2 separate regions of the Homo sapiens genome follow, and region 2 is linked to region 1. Evidence: promoter capture Hi-C in 16 types of primary human blood cells and fetal thymus (Javierre and others, 2016). All regions are on one chromosome and are shown on one strand. Each heading gives the region's core, a stretch centred on a gene start or on the middle of the fragment in contact. The rest is flanking DNA. Distances are from core to core; before and after follow the strand shown. Region 1 holds the start of PIGR (polymeric immunoglobulin receptor). Region 2 has its middle 14 kb from the start of MAPKAPK2.

What was found. The method cuts DNA at HindIII sites, captures the fragments that hold promoters and counts their contacts. A CHiCAGO score of 5 or more calls a contact.
Region 2: a fragment that was not itself captured here is called in contact with the fragment with the promoter of PIGR in region 1 in 8 of 17 cell types (activated CD4 T cells, naive CD8 T cells, non-activated CD4 T cells and 5 more); the score reaches 8.2 in activated CD4 T cells.

Annotation. Positions count from the first base shown.
Region 1 is chr1:206,940,770-206,948,080 of GRCh38, reverse strand. PIGR (polymeric immunoglobulin receptor) reads left to right here and starts at 1,615. Exons shown (of 11, transcript NM_002644.4): 1 at 1,615-1,745. The HindIII fragment of the contact is 20,587 bases long and covers 1-6,484 here.
Region 2 is chr1:206,667,514-206,674,517 of GRCh38, reverse strand. No RefSeq gene overlaps it. Among named protein-coding and RNA genes, the nearest start is that of MAPKAPK2, 14 kb to the left of the region's middle. The HindIII fragment of the contact is 4,234 bases long and covers 1,372-5,605 here.

The DNA.
Region 1 (7,311 bases), core at 366-2,865:
CCCAGGGGAGAGAAGGGAGACAAAAAGGAAGGGAACTCCATAATGAGGCTAAATTTTAAATCTGGAGTGAAGTGACTGAGAGATCACTGAATTGGGCTGAGCTTGCCTAGAAGTGACTAGGTAACTTGTTTTCTTTTATCAGTCAGATTATGGGTTTAGGGTTTGAAATTAAGCTACATCTGGAAGCCATCATCCTCATCAAACTAACACAGGAACAGAAAACCAAACACCACATGTTCTCACTCATAAATGGGAGCTGAACAATGAGAACACACGGACACAGGGAGGGGAACATTACACATCCGGGCCTGTTGGGGGGGGTGGGGGGAGGGAGAGCATTAGAACTAATAGCTAATGCATGTGGGGCTTAATACCTAGGTGGTGGGTTGACGGGTGCAGGAAACCATCATGGCACACGTTTACCTGTGTCACAAACCTGCACGTTCTGCACATGTAATCCTGGAACCTAAAACAAAATAAAAAAAGAAAATCTAAGTTTGCAAACCACAAAAAAAGAGAGAAATTAAGCTACATAAAGAAATTATGGGGTTTTTTTGCTTGCCATTGAAATCTGTGATTGTGTGTTAACACCCACAAGTGAGCCAGTGGTTAGCTAAAATAAGACCCAGGGCTCTGGCTGCCTTGTGTTTCTCCAGGGCTCTATTTCTCTATTTTTCCTTCCCCTTCTGGTGTTTGGCCTATAGGACTCTGTAGGGAGAGCCTGGGTCAGCCCTGCACAGGTAGGATGGGCAGCATTTCTGTGGGGGTTTGCAGTGAGGGGTCGGGGGGCCATACACGTGTGTGTTGGGGAGTGGGCTTCACTTTTGTCACAGGACTGCCACGATCATTTGGGGAACACCTGGGAGTCCCAACCAGGTCATGTTTTGGCATGGACTAACAGATAGGGAAGGAGGTGCTACTTCAGCTCAGCAGGTCAGCACCGTCCTTGCTATGGAGCCGAGCCCGGGTCCTAACAAGACTCTGAGGTCAGCCATGTTCAGGGGAGCCCAGAAGCAGCGAGTCTTTCATGACTCTGGGGAGTGAAACAGGAAGGGCCACAGTCCTGCCAGTTCCTGGAGCTCTGGGACTGGTAAAAGGGGCTTGGCAGGAGGTGTATAAGGGGCATTTTTGTCCAGGCTAAGTAACCTAGGGAGTCGGAGGGGATTCCAGAGCAACTGGGGATATGAGACCAAGGACTACGACAGCCACTCCTGCCACCTGTGCCCCATCAGATGATGTCAACTTCAAATCAAGCATTGGGCCAGGTATTTTAGAGCTAATACCGGGCTATATCCTCTACCTGTAGATTTGGTATTACCATCCCTCTTTTCCAGATGAAAAGAAATAGGAAGGTGACTTGCCAAAGGTCTTGCAGCTAGAAAGCGACAGAACAGCATCTTCACGCTTGACATTCTGTCCCTCATCCTGAAGCTGCAACGATGGAGGATTCCCAAGTAACAGAGTCTCCCCAAGGTCAAAGGAAACCAAATGGAGCCAGCCAGGAAGGCCAAAATGAAAGGAAAGCAAGGGATCTGTGAGAGTCACATGACCCTGGCTGGCCACGGTGCCTGTGGGAGAGTGGCCCTTTAAGAGCCCAGGTGTGGGTCAAACACTGAGCAGAGTTTCAGTTTTGGCAGCAGCGTCCAGTGCCCTGCCAGTAGCTCCTAGAGAGGCAGGGGTTACCAACTGGCCAGCAGGCTGTGTCCCTGAAGTCAGATCAACGGGAGAGAAGGAAGTGGCTAAAAGTAAGTGTTACTGCTCTGGGATCCCCAGACGGGATGCTATCTGGAAAGGGCTCGGGACGATGGCTCAGGTAACCCCCTCCATTCCCAACTCCCAGTCTCCTAGATAGTGGGGTGACAAGGACAAGGAGGCAGACTGTGTGACTGTGTGTGGCTGGGGAGTAAGCGTGCATATCGCAGTGGGACGAGTAGGGATGCACGTGTGTGGAAGCCCCCCATCCTTTTCTGAGAAATATCAGCAGGTGGGAAGGGACCTCTGTGGTCAGCATATGTAATTCTACTCTTTCAGCTTGGTCTGTGCCTGGATTTCCTAACTCCTCATAGTTGATTAACTGTGTGGCCTTAGACAAGCCACCTAACCTCTCTGATCCTCAGTTTCTTAATCTGTAAAACAAAGATAGAAATAACACCTATCATTCAGGGTCAATGTGGGTTCAAATGAGAAAACACAGGTGAAATAGCTTTGTAACCTCTAGAATGAAATAGGAATTGTTTCATATTTTTCAGTTTAGTTTAATTAATCAAGGATTTATTGAACACCAACAGACCTGGAATTAGATAGTGCGCATAAAGTATGGCACCTAGCAAGTCCTCTTCCATTCTTTGAGGTTTCCCACTTGTGGCTTTCTGGCAAAGGCATGTTCAGCTCCTTTTTTCTGGGCTTCCAAGAACCTCTGAAATCCTTTGCAATTCCACCTCGCTTTGCTCTAGCAGATTCCTGCCATGGGAGACATAAATGTGTGTCATCGCATCATCCTGCCCTTCCTAGAGGTAGAAAAAAAGAGGTCCTCACGGGATCACTGAGTGAGGTGGAGCTGAGCCCCACAGGCAGCATGATCAACTCCTGCTGTTCCTCCTGGCTCTGCAGCCAGCAGATCTCAGACATGGGCTTCCCCTCCCTTTGCCCATCCTGACAGCAGCCCAAGCCAGCAGTGGGACCGTCCGGCACAAGGGCAGCAGCGGGTCAAGCTCCATCCCTGACCCCCAGTTCCCTTTGTGCAATTGCCACAGTGCCTGGGGCCATTGAAGCTGCTCCTATTTTGTGCCATCACTTTCCCCCTTCACTAGGGGAATTATAGATCCTTTAACATCTGGAGAGGAGATGCCAATTTCAGGGGTTTAGGTAGAAGGCAGCTGTCTGGTGCCTGGACATAGGTCTTCCCAGAGCCAGATCTGGAATTCTCTCTCCATCCTTGTCCCGCCCCTGGATGTGCTAAAGTAGCAGAAAGAACACTGAGCCAGGAGTCAGGAAAGCAACTCTCTCTGCTTATCTCCTAGTGCCGCTAGACCTCTGTGGCTTTAGGTGATAAAAAATGGGGTCACACAGGCTTCCATTTAGTAAACCCACTTGCCCTGGGCTTTCACACCTTCGTCTCATTCTCCCTTGATACCAACGAGGAGGTAGGCAGGGTTGGTTTTGTGATGTCATTCCCTAGTTGAGGAAACCAAGACACCGTGAGTCTATGTGAGTGGTGTGAAGTCACCAGCAAGTTTGAACGATGAGGTTTTGGTACAGCCATTTTGATATGGTCATGAGGACATTTTGATGTCACCTAAAAAGCAAACTATCCAACTTAAAAAAAAATACCTATGCATTGTGCTCAGCAGAGACCTTCATCTATGTCTTGCCCTCTCTCTGGAGGGGCTGGGGCTGGAGTCCCAATGTCACTGGCATCGACACAGTATGGTGGAGTGGAAAGAGGCTTTGGCGTCAACATGCCTGGTTATACCCATGGTTATGTAACATATCCTACACATGGTAGGTGCTAAATAAATAGCAGCTAATATTTTCCAGGAAGAAATTTCTCTGTTGGCACCTACCTCTGGGTCCAGGTGTCTCTTCATTTTTTAATTTTTTATTTTTTTGAGATGGAATCTTGCCCTGTCACCCAGGCTGGAATGCAGTGGCGTGATCTTGGCTTACTGCAACCTCCACCTCCTGGGTTCCAGCGATTCTCCTACCTCAGCCTCCTGAGTAGCTGGGATTACAGACCCATGCCACCACACCCAGCTAACTTTTGCACTTTTAGTACAGATGGGGTTTTACCATGTTGGCCAGGCTGGTCTTGAACTCCTGACCTCATGATCCACCCACCTCAGCCTCCCAAGGTGCTGGGATTACAGGCGTGAGCCACTACGCCCGGCCCCAGGTGTCTCCTTATAAGAACTGCCTTTTCCGTGAAAGGCAGAGAGGAAAGAACTGAACAAATTCTCAGTTCGCTAAGATTGAATATCCTGCTTCTTCCTCTCTCCACTGCTTCCTCTCAATAGGAAGACCCTCTGAGGTAAAGCAGAGTGGCTAAGGGCCTATGCTCTTGATCTAGAATCCCATCTAAGTCACTTACCAACTGTGCAACCTTGGGCAAATGTCTCACCTCTCTGTGCCTCAATTATCTCACTCATGAAATGGGGTTGCCCATTTTGTCCCATCTCCTATGGTGGCTGTAAAAATGGAACACATTAACACATGTAAAGCACCTGGAAAGGACTCAGCGTACGTTCTTCTAGCCTAGCCCATAGTGCTTGTCTCCTCTCTTATCCACATGAGTCCAACCTAAGTAGCTCACTCTCCATCTCTCTATCTTCAAAGGATGTCCAGCAAGCAGACTTCTACTCTCATACCAAGTCCAGGGGACCTTTCTTCCTCTGAAAAAGAGGGAAACCTGAGATTAGATGGACAAAGGTTTGGACTCCACACCATGAGAGATGAAGTGCAGTCACTTTAACTGAACAGGAGCTAGTTAAATACATTTTATAAAAAGAAAAACTATCCTTCAGCACAGCTTACACTCCTGCCCCAATCCACAATTGTGGGGACATATGTTACACATATGTTGGGATACTAACTTAGTAAACTGAAAATGATCTAGCACATCCTAGCCTCAGCAGTGAAAAAACAACTGCTAGTTTAAGGACCAGAAAACGTGCCCTCATGCATGATATAATATCATATATATAAAACCCAATAAAGCAGGTCCCTTTGCTCATTTAAAGAGTGATAATGGGGTAGTGACCTCAAATTAGGATTCTGCTGTGGGTCTTGGGGTCGAGAATCCCTATAACCCTTAGATTTCCAACCTGTGTCATGAGGATAACAACATCTATCTCTTGGGTTGTTGTGCTGATGGATGAAGTCTTACAAGAAAAGAACCTAGCAAAGCATTTGGCACGTAGCAGGTGCCCAACATTATGTTCTTTTTCTTCCTTCCTTAAGCAAATCCTTTAAATCCAGCCCCAGCCACCCTGGGCTGGGGAGGTCTCCCGAGATTTGAATCCCCAGGTTTGGAAGAAAGTCTCTGGTTTTGAGAGGAAGGGGTCTGTAATGATTCTGAAAGCTCGAGGTCCTTTCAAATGCTACTAGAGAAATTGTGCTTCAAGTTTTAGCTTTGGGCAAAGAAGAGCTCCTGTTCCTGAAAGCAGGGGTATCCTCTCCTGCCAATCATCCCATCTAGGACTGGACTGTGTGCATCCCGCTGATGTTGCCATCTGCCCGACCTGCCTGTGCATGCCTGATGCTCTCATCCCTGGCTTGAGACCATGCAGAGGGTAATGGGTGCACACACATGTCCCCTCTCTACACAAACATGCACAGCCACCCAAACATGTCACAAAATGAGAAGTCTGGGACAGAGGTCAGGGTGGTCTTCACCTTGGAGAAGCTGGCATCTGACTCTCTGCAACCCAGGCCAAGTCCAGAGGAGGGCTGCATCCCCCAGCTCAGCTTGTGGGAAGACCACTCCTGTCTCACGCAAATATGAGGCAGCTTGCTTATCTAGAGGTGAGGACAGGAACAAGAAGCAAGGACAGCTGCTGCTGGTGTGGGTTCTTAAAAGCAGGCAGCATTTTGTCCTCCCACCTGTGACTGCACCCACCCTGTGCCAGCACAAGTAGAAAATGGTAGATCTCCCAGGACTTTGCAGCCAGCCCATCCCAACTGTTTCTGAGACTTCCTGGCCTCCTGAAAGCTGCTCCCACCTGGGAGCATCTCCCATGGCAGCTTGCAGTGCCCACGCAGGTGATGACATCCCAGCTAGTGTCCCCTGATTGCTTCCATGTTGGAGCTGACTGGTATTTGGCCAAGGCCCCACTCCAGGCATTAATCATTGACCTGGTAAGAAAGGTCTGGGGCAATTAACCGGACTCAAGAGAGCCTCAACGTTGCCATCTGACACCCATATTTGTTCCCACTCCCTCCCTTTATTCTTCCAAAGAACTGCAGAAACAAAATACCTTTATATTCACAAGGAAATAAAAGGTTCCTTGCTGGGAAATTCCCCTGCAACAAAGAAATAACCAAGATAAACAACTCTATTGCCTTTGGCTCAAGCTGGTGAAGGGAGTCTGGGAGCAGGAGCAGGGGCCAGGGTGGTGAGGGAGGTCTGGGAGATAACGCCCAGCTTCCTCCTGCTTACAGCGTCCTTATCTTTATGGGCACTCATTACTGCCCAAACTTACGATCATTTAACACTCTCTTTGTCAAGACAACTCCAAAGTTTAAAGTCTGTCAAAGTCTGGGAAAGTGGAGACTTCTGTCTCCTCCTCTAGGCTGTAGTTGGGGTCTTGATGACAGCTGCTGTCAGGCAGACCCCTGGGACCCTCAACTCTCCTCAGCCCTGGGCTGTGTCCACGGTGGAGACAAAGTCCACACAGGCTGCTCCGTCTGAGTGGTCTCATCTTCGATTCTTCATCTTTGTCTGCCAGGCCTTACCAGGCAGGATTACAAAGACCCTAACACCTAAGCTTTTAACCCCAATTCCATAACCAAGTTGCTGGGAAAACGTAAGCCTATCATTCAGCATCTCAAGACCTCAATGTTTTATCCATAAAATGGTTGTGATTATACCCGTCTGTCTTATTTCAAGGGAACATATAAAGCTCAAATGAAATAATGTAAATGGTAGTGCTTTCATAAGCAACAGGGTCTCTACAAATAACACAAATAAGCATAAGGTAAAAGCATGCTCTTGTATTTGGGGTGCGATACAGTAGTGGAGAGGTTAAGCACATGGACTTTGCAGTCAGACAAAGGTGGGCCCAAATCTTCCCCGACCCCCATTCTGTGTACCCCCACACATTTAACCCCATGTGCCCTTGAGGAAAGTACTTAACCTTGAAGCCTTCATTTCCTCCCATGTGAATGTGGATAAGGATACTAACCTCACAGGGCTGATATCAAGTCTGTATGAGATAGTACACATAAATTATTCAACACAGTGCCTGAGACAGAATAAGGGAGCAATCAATGGGGTTAGGACCATCATCATTACATTTACAGCCTTAATAATCATGACACCTCCTCTGTGGGTCTCAGTTTCCTCATCTGAACACACTGTGAAATATGTCAGCCCGCTTCACCTCCCAGGAATGTAGGGAGGGCAGCTGAAACAGAGAGATGGGGGCCACGTATTGGTAGGAACCAATCACCCAGCAAGCCATTCCTGAGATCTTACGGTGTGCCTGGGACTGTGTCTCATGGGCAGGGAAACAGAGCAAATGACACAATATCTCTATCCCAAAGGAGCTTGCAGCTTAGTTGAGAAGACAAAAGCTACTTCTAGCTATTAAGGAT
Region 2 (7,004 bases), core at 2,239-4,738, 280 kb after region 1:
GAGGATAGTGAATGGCACATAGACAAAGACAAATTTAAAAGTTCACGGTAATAGCTCTCTTTTAGTGAGCACCTATTATGTTCCTACAATGCCTGTGATTCCAGGTGTTGACTCAATCAATGCCCCATAACAACCCTGCAAGATAGGTGTTACTAACATCCTTCCAGGGGCCCAGATGAGGAAACTGAGGCCCATTGAATTTAAGCAACTTAAAGTAAGGTCTGGAGTGGGGATTTGAATGCAGAAAGCCGGGACCTAACTAACACCTGTCTTCTCAGCCACCATGTTCTCCTATGCAGGGAGTAAGACTCATAACTGCTGCAATTTGGGGCATAAAGCTCCATACTAGAGTTGTTCTTCCTCAATCAAGTACCTTGTTATGATCCTCATCCTCCATCCCAGCTCCTGGGTGGACTTCGCTGGACCCCCTATTCTAGGCTCAGAAAAAATTATAGCGAGAATAAGACAGTTATGTTTTTCCCAACCCAAAATTCCAATAATCTATTAATCTAGCTCGAGATCTTGGTATGAAAGCCATAAAAAAGGTGTGGGCCCAGGGACCAGAATGTGAGCCCAATGCCCTGCACAGCTGAAATGCTCTTTCTTTCTCTTTCTTTGCTATCCCCCGCAGATGCCTTTTTCTCTTCTGTTTCCTATGCATTTTTTTTTTCAGAATATTGTCCAAATGAGGAGGCGTTTCTGAAACACCAACTTGGTTCATTTACTCTCCACATAGCTGCCTGCTTTTTTCTCCCTAGGAAGTTGAACTAACAAGGTAGTATGAAAATCAGGTCATTTTCACTGTGTCAGTGTTTCCAGAGGCCATGGTGCTGAAAATGGAAATGTCAAAGTGGGATAATTACATCGGCCCTGAAGCCCTGTTTTCTAACTACCATTTATCCATAATCGATTCCTGAAAAAGACAAAGGACATGAATAATCAACCAAGCAGATGGAGCCTCAAGCAGTGAGGCAGAAGAGAAAACATGGCCCCCTGAAGGGAGAGGGAAGAAAGGCCTTGGGGGCCCAGGGAATATGTCTGCCCTGGAGACAGACCCGGTGATCAAGAAAGGCACACAGCTCAGACCTGGCCTGGGCAGATAAGGCATGTGTAGTGGGAAGTAATTAATCATTGGACTTCTCCTTTAACATCTTCTGACAGCCGTGAGAAGCTCTCTCTAGGAAATGGGGAAGGAAGTAGTAAGGAAGAACTCTGAGGATATCACATGAAGAGGGAAGCTTGGGCATAAAAATAAGGTTGAAAGATCACAAGTTCTAGAAGCTGCTTATTTAAAGACACTCCTTGTAACACACACACACGCACGCACACACACACACACACACACACACACCACCAGAAGTTGTTAAAGCTTGTGGCAGGGCTACAGTTTTCTTTGGCCAGTTTCTCCTTTGCCTTTAGGTCCAGCTGAGGAGACAGGGTCAGCCACATATCACTGGGCATTTTAGTCAGTTTCACTTCCTGTTTCTCATGCTGAAAACATAATCATCATCATAATGATAATAATAATTCTGCAGCCTTGCCTCTGGCTTCTATTTATATAGGGCCTCCCAGAAGTGTGTGCATCAGTGGGAGGGGGAGTAGAGCACATCTACTCCATCAATCAACAGCTGAGGGTGGAGGCAGGCTTGGAGGAAAGGGTGGGGACATAGAAATTAGCAATGGAAATTATTAAACTCATTTTTTCAGGAGGGGGAATCTAAGTGTCTTGGTAACTCCCCAAATGGCTATTCTTACCTTAGAGACATTTGTAAAACCCTTCTCCCAAGGTCCTCTAAAAATAAATCATTCCCAAACACTTTTCAGCCTTCAGTCTGTCCCCAGTCAAGTTAATCTCTGTGATCTGAGGCCCAAAAACATTTAAACTAACTTCCCAAGAGTTACACAGCAGGTCAGGAGAGAAGACAGGTCCAGACTAGGCTTCTTCTGCATCTATCAAGAGCTGTAACGAGGAAGGGAATTTCCAACTTTATGGGGAACTTGCAAAGTTGTCAGGAAAAAGTACAACTGCTTCTGCTAAGGAAAAAAAAATGCGTAGTTCTTGCAGACTTAAAATCCTAGGACAATGAGAGAGAGTTCCCTCTTACTAAGAATGTGCTGGGAATGTCTAAGATTAGAATAGGGGTAGGAGGGGCAGCTTTCAGACTTTGGTCAAGACAACAGCTTCGTGGAGTAGAGGTGTTGAGCCAGTATTTTAATTTTTTATCGCCAGTAAAGGGTTATACTCGAAGGACAAAGGTTGAACACTCCACAGGCTCAAGAGAATGAGATAGGAGTGGAGGGAAGCGGGGGAGGGAGCCATTATCTTGAGGACAATGGTGACACAGTCATCCTTTAGATCCTGGCTTCCCCTGGGGACCTGAGGAGAAGCGGTGGCAGGGAGGAAGCAGGTGGTTCCAGGGTCCTCGCTATATGAACCAAAAAGGCAGGTAAAGAAAAACAAAATGAAACCACCAGAGAGAGCCTCTAATTAATTGAATTAAAATTAAATGAAAAAAAAAAAACCTCCCTCTCAGACACAAACAAAGACACACAGAGCACACAGACACACCCTGAAGCACCAGCTAGCTACACTAAGGATCAAGAGAGGATGTGATCTCACCTATGTATTTATTGTGATAATTATTGTTGTTGGAGTTTTTTCCCCCAAAGGACAATCATAAGCCTGGGGCTGGATGGTGAGCGACAGGTTAGAAATGGGAAAATGAGAAAAGCCCACTGTGACCCTTTGAATAATCAACCTCAGGCTGTCAGGTGTTGAACCAGTACAAGGAGGGAACAGTAATGATATCAAACACTTCCACAGCATTCCCTATGTGCCAGACACTGTTCTAAGCACTTTCCACATATTTTCTCATTCAACACTTGCAGCAACCCTGTGAAATAGACTACTACTATTAGGACATTATCATTCATATGCATTTCCACCCTGGCTGTCTTGGCATCTCCGAGCCTGTAAAAGACGAGTTTCTTTAGTTCCCTACCTCTGTTCAGGGCCAGTTAGCTCCTTTGCCGGACCCAGTGCAAAATAAACATGCATAGCACCTTGTTCAGAAATTATTAAGAATTCCAGGCTGGGCGCGGTGGCTCATGCTTGTAATCCCAGCACTTTGGGAGGCCGAGGAGGGCGGATCACGAGGTCAGGAGATAAAGACCATCCTGGCTAACACGGTGAAACCCCGTCTCTACTAAAAATACAAAAAAAAAAAAAATTAGCCGGGCATGGTGGCGGGCGCCTATAGTCCCAGCTACTTGGGAGGCTGAGGCAGGAGAACGGCCGTGAACCCGGGAGGCGGAGCTTGTTGTGAGCGGAGATCGCGCCGCTGCACTTCAGCGTGGGTGACAGAGCAAGACTCCGTCTTGAAAAAAAGAAAAGAATTCCAAGTGAGTATTAAACCCACACAGCGTCCTTATAAATGCAGGTCCCTGTGCAATGCATGGCTTGCATGCCCATGAAGCTGGCCCTGCATAGAACCTCCCCGAATCATTGCACAGAACAATTGTGCTGTCTTCTGTTATCCTACCCTGGTGCATGCCCAACTCCTAAACAAGGAAAGGGGAGGGAAAAAAACACATTCTACCCCAAATATATTGGCTGTATGTAGATGGCTTTGTTGAAGAAGATATTCCTCAGCTAAATGAAAGTTTGAGAACCATGATCTAGATGTTTTTCTTGTCTTCCTATCCTCCCCCCATACCTAGAAGACAATACAGACGATTTGTTAAAATCTCTCCCACTGTTGTTTCAGGAGGTTTGTCCTTTTATTCACCCCTCTCCTCACATCCCACATCTAATCAGCTGGCAATTCTTGCTGACTCTATCTCAGCAAGGCCTCCTGTATCCTGCCCTCTTTTCCATCTCCCCTGCAACTGCCCTAGATTTCTCTCACCTAGAATATTCCACTAGCTCACTAACTAGATTCCTTGCCTTCAACCCCGTGCTTTTCCAATCCATCCTTTATGATGCTTGTTATACTTGGCCTTTTATTCGTCACTTTTGAGGACTTTTTTTTCTCCCAAGTTGTCAATTTCTCAAGGGCAGATACTCCATTCCCAGTCACCTGTGCCCTCCTCAGTAGCCCCGAGAGGAGCAGTCTGTGCTTGCTGAGTATGCGTGCAATGACTCCCTTGCAAATATCTCGCCTTTTCCATTAGGCTCACATTCTAGACAAAAGCTCAGCCTTTTGAACTCTCAGTCTAGAGAGTTCCTTTGTCTTAAATTCTAGAGAAAAGCATGATATCCAAAGTCTTATCTCATATTACAATAAAAATGTAGCCAATTGCAATAATTAGGAGGGTTTACTTCCCAATGTATCAATAAGGCATGGAAATAATTATGAGAAGCTGTGGAGAGGACAAATGGGTGTCTCTTGCTTGGAAGGCTTAGTTTGACTTGGCTTCAACCAAAAAAGGCAGAAAGGCCTGACTTCCATAATCTTCATTACCCATAGCAAAGTAATTGGTCTGTTTAAACAATCAGGATTGTTTTAAAGAATGATGGCCTTGAGTGCTACTTTAGGGAAGAAACCACAGTCAAAGATGGTTTACCTCAACATTTCAAAAGGTCTTACTGGTACCCTAATCTCATTTAAAAACCAGCCTAAATTACCTTGGATCCAGAATATGAGAACCATCCTATATCAGTTAGGACGCATGCAGCTGAAAAGACAACTGGCAATGGCTTAAATCATAAAGATGCTAATAGTTTCTTAACAAGGCTAAAGGGAGGTGATCTCGGGTTGTTCAGCAGCTCAACAAAGTCCTCAAGCTCCATCAAGGATCCGGGTCTGACCGTCCTCTGCTTTGCCATGCTCAGCAGACAGGACCTCTCCACCATCCAGCTCAGCATATTATTTCATTGTTGCAAGATGGCTGCAACAGCTCTAAGTCTCACATCTTCCCATGGCGTGATTCAACAGAGCAAGAAAAGAGGCAAGGGTGAAATAAAAAATAAAAGTAAAATTTAAAAAAAATTGAAGTCTTGGCTGGGCTCAGCGGCTCACTCCTATAATCTCAGCCCCTTGGGAGGCTGAGGCATGAGGAACGCTTGAGGCCAGGAGTCCAAGACCAACCTGGACAACATACAGAGACCTCGTCTCTATAAAATATAAAAATCAATTAGCTGGGAGTGGTAGTGTGTGCCTCGTCCCAGCTGCTCCGGGGGTGCTGAGGTGGGAGGATTGCTTGAGCCCAGGAGATCAAGGCTACACTGAGCTGAGATCGTACCATTGCACTCCAGCCTGGCCAACAGAGTGAGACCCTGTCTTAAATAAATAAATAAATAAATAAATAAATAAATAAATAAATAAAATTTCCTCCAAAATTATGGTATTTATCAAGGGAAAAATATTTCCCAGAGAACTTCAGTTGGCTTCCCATAATGTCCCATTGGCCAGAAGTGGGTCACATGCCCACTCCTAAACCAATGGCTGCACAAAAGAACCAGAATGTTCCCCAGGTCGGGGAGGAACCAACCTTCCCCTGGCACTTTGCTACCCACCTGCTGAACCAGGTATGGGTTCTGTCACAAGGAAGGAAAAGGGGGATGGGTTTTTGGTTCTGGTATTGTTTTTTAGAGAAAGAAGCTTCAACTGGGTTGTCCACGCTGGACTCAAACTCCTGGGCTCAAGGGATCCTTCGGCCTGAACCTCCCAAAGTGCTGAGATTACAGACACATCATGGGGCCCAACAAGCGAGGGGGATGGTTTTGAGTAGGGAACAGCATTTGCTCCATTTCCACTCAAGTGACACTTTCCCCTGTCTGTAACATCTTTAAGTATTTCTTGCCTGCTGTCCTGCCTCTTCCTGACACCTGCCTGGTTTCCTCTTGTTCCTTTCCTAGCAAACTCAACTGCAGGAGCAATTTAACTATACTTCCTGTCTCCACTTCTTCAACTCCTGAGCACTCAACTCTTCTGAAATTCGGCTTTTGCCTCGGCCACTCACTCCTCCTATCTCCTTATCTTAGCTCACCATCTCAGTTTAGATCTCTCTGCTGAATTTCACACTTTGCCCCAACCCTTCCTTCTTCCTTCAAAACTCTGTCCTGGGCCTCTTTGCAGCACAGGATCCCTTGATTATCAGGACCTCACACTCTGAATTCTACTTCTCCATCCTTGCCCACTTCTCCTCAGTTTCCTTCAATTGCTCTTCTCCCCAACCTCCCTCTAAAGTGTTGAGGTTTTCCAGGGCTCCTCCCTTGACTGTCTTTAGTAATCATTTTATACAATTTCCCAGGCTTCAACTACCAGCTAATCTACACCCGTGACCCCCAAATTTACAAATTCAACCCAAATACTTTTCTTAAACTCATACCCATAGTGGACTTTCACTACTATTTTCAGACAGCTTAAGTTCAATATCTACAGAACTGACTCTATCTACACTGTACACACACACATACACCCTCCTTCATCCTGCCACTCAGAGAAGGTACCACTCTCCATCTGGTTGCCAAAGGCTGATGCTGGTAGTCAACCTTGACTCCTCACTGTCTCTCACCCCCAATAATCAATTACAATTCCAGCTAATGTCACCTCCCCACTGTTCCCTTCTCTCCATTCTCATGCCACTGCCCTGCTTCAGGCAATCACCAGCTTCCATCTGGATTATGGCACCAGCCCCCTGATTGCTTCTGGTCTTCCCCTTTCCAATCCCTTCTCCCAATATCACCCCAATAATTTTTTAAAATGCAGATCTGATCATTTGATTCCAGGGGGCTTAAAAATATTTGAATAGCTCTGCAGAGCCTAGAGAAATGGGCCGAACTCCCTAGAGTACATGGGACTCTTCACAGTCTTGACCCCTAAGTCATGAACACTATTTATATAAACTGTAAGTGTTGTGTAGATTAGATTGAGGAGGGGACAAATGGTGACTGGGATATTAGTTAAGAGACTATTCTAAAATACTATTTTAAAATCTCTGCCATCAGATTTGCAGATTTCATAAGCTCATATTGCCCCAAAGCCTTGAATATTCATAGC